Linked DNA regions of Homo sapiens: region 2 is linked to region 1. The links are contacts of gene promoters, found by promoter capture Hi-C in blood cells and fetal thymus (Javierre and others, 2016). All regions are on one chromosome and are shown on one strand. Each heading gives the region's core, a stretch centred on a gene start or on the middle of the fragment in contact. The rest is flanking DNA. Distances are from core to core; before and after follow the strand shown. Region 1 holds the start of PAK6-AS1 (PAK6 antisense RNA 1). Region 2 overlaps LOC105370941 (a long non-coding RNA gene).

Evidence for each region. The method cuts DNA at HindIII sites, captures the fragments that hold promoters and counts their contacts. A CHiCAGO score of 5 or more calls a contact.
Region 2: a contact is called between a fragment that was not itself captured here and the fragment with the promoter of PAK6-AS1 in region 1, in 4 of 17 cell types (total B cells, naive B cells, naive CD4 T cells and 1 more). The highest score is 11.7, in total B cells.

What each region holds. Positions count from the first base shown.
Region 1 is chr15:40,251,504-40,254,483 of GRCh38, reverse strand. PAK6-AS1 (PAK6 antisense RNA 1) reads left to right here and starts at 1,525. Exons shown (of 2, transcript NR_168270.1): 1 at 1,525-1,826; 2 at 1,945-2,980. It overlaps BUB1B-PAK6 (BUB1B-PAK6 readthrough), which reads right to left. Exons shown (of 10, transcript NM_001128629.3): 2 at 1,195-1,306. PAK6 (p21 (RAC1) activated kinase 6) reads right to left here. Exons shown (of 11, transcript NM_001395430.1): 3 at 1,195-1,306. RefSeq lists a silencer at 1,454-1,543. The HindIII fragment of the contact is 18,506 bases long and covers 1-2,980 here.
Region 2 is chr15:39,785,053-39,788,195 of GRCh38, reverse strand. It overlaps LOC105370941 (a long non-coding RNA gene), which reads right to left. Exons shown (of 1, transcript NR_135665.1): 1 at 2,579-3,143. Among named protein-coding and RNA genes, the nearest start is that of FSIP1, 3.8 kb to the right of the region's middle. The HindIII fragment of the contact is 2,841 bases long and covers 303-3,143 here.

The DNA.
Region 1 (2,980 bases), core at 276-2,775:
CCTCTTCCAGGAATGGCCCCTTCCCTGGGTCACCACGAGGTCCAGAGACCCTGAATTAGGGTCTCTCACTACTCGCCCTCCAAGGACCCCTACCTTTACTTTATTCCTATTGCTTTGCTCTAATACCCTCTGACAATAGCTTGCCAAACAGCCAGACTGCCCTCAAAGCTCTCCAGGATGGGAGAACTTGGAGTGGCTTAGCCCTTCCCAACATAGCAGCTGGAGGCTGATGAGGCAGTTACTCCCCACAACCGCCTAATGAGGAGGAAGGCATTCGCATTCCCATTTTACAGATGAGGCCATTTATAAGTTTGTAGAGAAGTGAAGCAACTTGTCTAAGGAGTCAAAGGCAAAGTCTGGATAGATTCAAACCCCACTCTCTTCGGTTCCAAATGTGTCTTCGGCCACTGTCCTATATACTATGGAGGAGAATTCATGGCACTGCAGGCTGAACCTCACCTTGCATGGAACCAGGCGTTTTCTTATCCAATGCGGCAACCTATGCCACACCGGCCACCAAAAACGAGCATGGACACAGACCTGAGCCCCTCTGCCCCCTTCACCCAGAAAAACAAGTCAGAAAAGCCCCCAAAAAACCACCAGAATGGGGCAAGATACAGAAAACGCAACCTACACCCTGGGAGCTCTTCATGGCTTAGCCTCCAGTGCTCCCAGCAGCACCTACACTCCAGATCGGATGCCACCTGAGCAGGTCTGGAGATCTGGGGAATGAGCGGTGGGCTGGGATGTGTGGAGCGGCAGCTTCACCTGTAACTCCTGCGGGAGTCTCCCACGGCTGCCTCCCACCCTGCCCTGCACAGCCACTGGGCCTGCCACCACCCTTCCTGTTTGGGAACCTCTTCCCCGGCATGAATTCCCTGCACTCTGCCGCGGTGACACCCTCACCCAGGACAGGCATCAGACCTGAAGATGGGCCCGGGGGCAGGGCGGGCCATTTGAGGTCTTGACGTCTACCAGCCTACCGTGGGGCCATGGGGCAAAGTGGTGTAAGTGACTTAACATGCACCCACTAAGGATCGAGAGACGGCACCTGGAAGGGACCACCTCCGCTGCCTAGCAGTACCAGGAAGGAGCCAGCCCAGGAGGGCCACCTGCCTGCCCACTGTCCCTCCCTGCCTGCTCTTCAAAATGGGTGCAGAAGGCTCTAGGGCCGGGGGCCGCTCGCTCACTCACCTTCCGGCGCCTTCCGCCTCTTCCTCGCGACTCCTCACCCGCACTGGGCCTCTCTCTTAGGCGCTGAGGAGAGGGAAGACCTGGGACCTTGCTGGGCCAGTCCTCCGCAGGCCTGCGCGGAAACAGATCAGAAATGCATTATGGCAAATGTAGCAAGTGTTCCCGCGGGTGTTGCGACTGGCTGACGTCCAGGCGCTGGGAACCGCTCCGCGCCCGCCTCCCGACTGAACTCCTGGCTCAGGTGCAAGAGGCGGCAGGCTCCTTGCGGGGCTTACGGGGAGAAGGGGACGTTGGGCGCAGCACCGCTTCCGGGGCGGCCCCTCTCCAGCCACACTCCGACCCGGCGCGGCCACCCGGCCCCAGCTCGCAGGCCCCACTGCTGCGCCCTCTCGGGGACGCGAATGCCCCGCGCCGGGCGGGCGCCCGCGGAGGGAGGTCCCGCTCCAGGGACGCGGAGCTCCAGATGCCTGCGCCCAAGGCCCCTCGCCTGGCGCCGGCTGGTCCCGAACTTCGGGGCATGGGCACCCAGGAAGGGGGCTGCGCGTGTTGGGAGGCCCGTCCTCTCGCCGCGAACCTCCGGGGCAGCCGGGGAACCCACCTGCGGAGCGGGAAGCCCAGGAACGCTCGAAGAGGTCGTGGGAGCCGGGCCCGCCCTCCGCGGGAGGGACCTCGGCGCGGGAACGCCGAGGAGGGGCCGCGCTTACACGTTGGTGCAGCGCCGGCTTCACCTGACCGCGATTTTGATTTCAGGGTGTGGCCTCAGGTAGGACGCGGCGGCGAACCCAGAGCGCGGGAGAAGTTGCCAAGTGTCGCTGGGGCCTTGGCCAGGAGCCCCTCTGCCCGAGGGGCGCCGTGCTGCTCAACTCTTTCTCTCCACCTGCTTGGCCCCAGTTCCCGCCCGCCCTTCGCCTCCGGGCCCTGGCCTGGCCACAGCCGCGGGGACCTGCCTGCGGCTCCACGGCCCAGTGGCCGCCTCGCGGAGACCCGACCTGGAGAATCAGCTGAGCGCCGGCTGTGTGTAATCACCTCGTTCACTGGCATCGCAGATGCACGCTCCAGAGCCGCGGGCCGACTCTCCCGGACCTGAGCGGGCCGCGTGTGCCCACCCACACATCCTGGAGAGCCCACGCGGGAGTCGGAAAACCTGTCACCTTGGATGATCTGTCCCATGTGGACAGGGCCCCAAGACTGTGCTGGGGTAGCCCCTTGCGCAGGCAGGAAAGCGGGATTTAAGGGATTCCAGTTCCCTTGTCAGCCCTTGCGCAGTCCTGAGTCCTGAGGACTTTCTAGCCTGAGAGTCCTAGGGCAGGAGACCCGCACCCCCAGAGCGGCTAGGGCCTGTTTCGGAGCCCCTCCGCCTGTGATTTTGTCCCAGAGTCGGCATCCTCTGCTTGTCCTCAGCAGTCCCTGCCTAAGATCAGAATGGCCATTCCAAGGGGCTCACTCCTGGCTGCCCCTGTGCCATGTTTCTTTTGGGGTACAGGGTGTTTTCTATACTGGGGGAAGGGACAGGAATCACTCATCTCTTCCCCAGATAAAGAAGTGAGAAGACCTTTGCTCTCCTTGTCTTGGGCCCCCAGAGAAAGGCTGTGTTCTGGCTGAGTGCTGAGGAAGTTCTGGCTTGGAAACTCAGTACATGTGGACTCCAAATGGCTGCCGTCAAGTGGTGGCTGGGTGACTGCCAGTGTCACAGAGCGGGGACCAAGGACAGTGCAGGGATTTTAAAAATCATTGTTGGGCACCTCAGACTTCAATGATTAACTGAGGTCACTATGGCCACTTATTT
Region 2 (3,143 bases), core at 474-2,973, 470 kb after region 1:
TGACTCTGGATATTATAACATACCTTCGTTTTCATTGATTTACTTTACTATCTTTAAAAACAACCCTCTAGGCCAGAAACATGTAGCTGCACTGCTATGTGTGTGTGTGTGTGTGTATGTGTGCACTGATTTTTACACAATTTCACAATGTCCTGGAAGTTTGTGGCCCCCTAGGTTGACATTCGGATCGCTCGAGCCAGTTGAATAGTTATATGACAATACATGATCTAACTTCTTTAACTGAAAACAAACCTAAAGTCATCACTGTTTTTGGACCAATAGGCATTGAGAAGTTGTAAGCTTGATCTTTTAAAAAATGGAGACATCCACTGACCAGCAGCTAATTCTGTGCAGCACTCCACAGCAGACAGGGAGAGGAGGGAAAGAGTTCTACAGGGAGAGCATTTTTCAGTCTCTAGCCTGCTGTTTACAAAGGAAGTGCTGGATGTCACTGTTCACAGCCTCCGTGTAGAACAGCTGCAGGGGGCTCCATGGTGCCTCCAGGAGCAATGTCCTCACCACTATTTACCCTCTAAAACATTAACTTGAAGTCAGTGGTTCATCTGTACCACAAGCACCAAGGGACTTGTTAAAAATGCAGATTCCTGGTCTGCATTCCAGACCCACTGAATCATGTAATAGGGACTAGAATCAATATTTTAAATAACACCTGAACTGATCCTTCTCAACAACAAAATCTGACAACCCATTTGAATCGGGTTTATTTCACAGCTTTTAAGTTCTAAAAAATGTACTAAAATAAGGTACTAAGCACATATGAAACATATACTTAACATGTATTTTACTTTCAATAATAATAGCATTAAGCCTGGGCAACATAGGGAGACCTCACCTCTACAAAAAAAAAAAAAAAAATTCAACCGGGCATGGTGTTGCATGCCTGTAGTCCCAGCTACTCATGAGGCTGAGGTGGGAGGTTGCTTGAACCTGGGAAGTTGAGGCTGCAGTGAGCCATGATCATTGTGCTACTGCACTCCAGCCTGGGTGAAAGAGCATGACTTTATCTCAAAAAAAAAAAAAAAAAAGAAAAAGAAAAAAGTGTTACCTGTTCCAGAATCTGATTGTTGTTTTTTTCAGGCTTTATTTACTTCCCTGTTCATGACCCTTGCTGGCATGGATGGCATTGTGGCCAAGCAGGATTGGGAGATGCTGGAGGGAGTACAGTTGGTATAAAAGGGGTACATGGAATAAAACATGTATTTCTTCTTAAGTCTACTGATTTAATGTAAATACAGATGTATGAGAATTTTCAGAGTCTCAAAGTCACCATGGTTTTTTGATATTATTTATAGGTACTAACATTTTAAAAAATGCAGTTTTTTTGAGATCAAATTTTCACTTTTCCTATTTGGGTGGCTATTTAAAGATGCATCCAGGCACAATTCAGACATACAAGATACTTCAGTTCAGTGGTTTCTTGAATTACACCTAAAATCCAAAGGAACGTGTTTCTGAAAGTGGCTGCCAATTTTTTTTTTTAAGAGGACAATCAGCACCATCTAGTGGACACAAATATCTCCTCTTCTAGAATTCGGACCCCTGAGGAGATGGAGGGCAGGCTTTGGAACCTAGGTTGGAATCCCGGTGCCAGTTAGTTCCCCAACGACCTTGGGACAATTACTTACCCTTTAGGTGCTCTGCTTCTCAACTCTAAATCCAGGTAATACTAGTGCCGACTCATAGAATGTTATGAATGAAGTGAAATGATGCTTGGAAGGCAAGTCTGAAACACTTTGTAAATGCAGTTTTTCAATAACACTAAGCATAGATTCACAGGACATGGGAACTATCCAGTGGTAAACACTATTATCTGCTCTCCAGTAGGAATGGCTATTATACACAAAATCCAGTGTGTAGAATCTACGATATGAGGCTTAATGAGATCCCTCTCCTACCATATTGTTACATTCGGTTGAAGTTTATGGTGAGGAAAGGGCAACCGGGGCAACAAGGCTGAAATGGTAGTTGGTGCCCAGATGGCAAACAATGCTCTTGCTCGCTTTCATTCATTCAAATCTGACTCCACTCGGAAGGAGGATGTCAAGAGTAGGGAGAGACTGCAAACAAAAACAAAAGCTAACTCCGAAACTAACACTGCCACTGCCATATGTCACCAACCTGGAATGAGACCAGGGAAATTTTAGCTTCAAATATCTTGACTCTAGAAGAAATTTTTATGAATGACTTTGAAGGGCACAACACTTTCCAGGATGTGTTTGCGATTTTTGAAAATGGAACTGCAGAAAACACAGTATAGACATTTGGTGCTCTCGGACTTATATCCCCGTGCTGTTTTGAGGGTGTCACCTGCAATAGCTGACACAGAAGTATCTGGGGAAATTAAAAACAAATACACAACAAATGCAATTTATTAAAGCTGGCCCTTAAGGCACACACAGCCTCTCGGCAGTTTACAAAATGGAAGCAGCAGGAGGTAAATAAACACGTGAGAGTGACACAGAGACAAAACAATTCAAAATGAGATAAATAGTTTTATGCAAATATAGTCAATAGGGACTTAGTCTGGAAAGGTTACAAACAGTGAAGAGACACAAAGTTTACGTGGAACCCGAATTTTATTTTCACTTGCTTTATATGCATCTTATGTTGCATTTTAAAAACAACAGTTAAAAAAATGAAAACAGCAGTAATCATAGGTCCGCTTTTTCTTAGTTCAGCCCCTTCCCCCCCCGAGAAATTGGGAAGGTATTGTTTTCTTAGTGGACACTATTAGTCACCAAATTAAAAACTGGAAAGAATGGCCTTCGTTTATGGTGTATGAGAACCGTGCAGGCACTTGGCAATGATCTCGTCTTGCCGCTAGGTAAACAGCGGTCGGTGGACGGGGAGCATTGGCATCATCTAGGAGCCTGTTAGTCTCAGGTCTCACCTGATACTGAATCAACATTTTTTTTTTTGAATCAGCATTTTTAACAAGATTCCTCGGTGATTTGTCTGCACATTAAAGTTGAGAAGGCCTAGATTCATTTGATCTCAGGTACACCCCTGGTTGTGTAGTTTATGAAGTCTCCCCAGGTGATTCTAATGCTCTGTGCAGTTAAGCACTGCAAAACTAGTCCAACTTCATTTTTCAAATGAAGAAACTGTGGCCCACAAAAGCT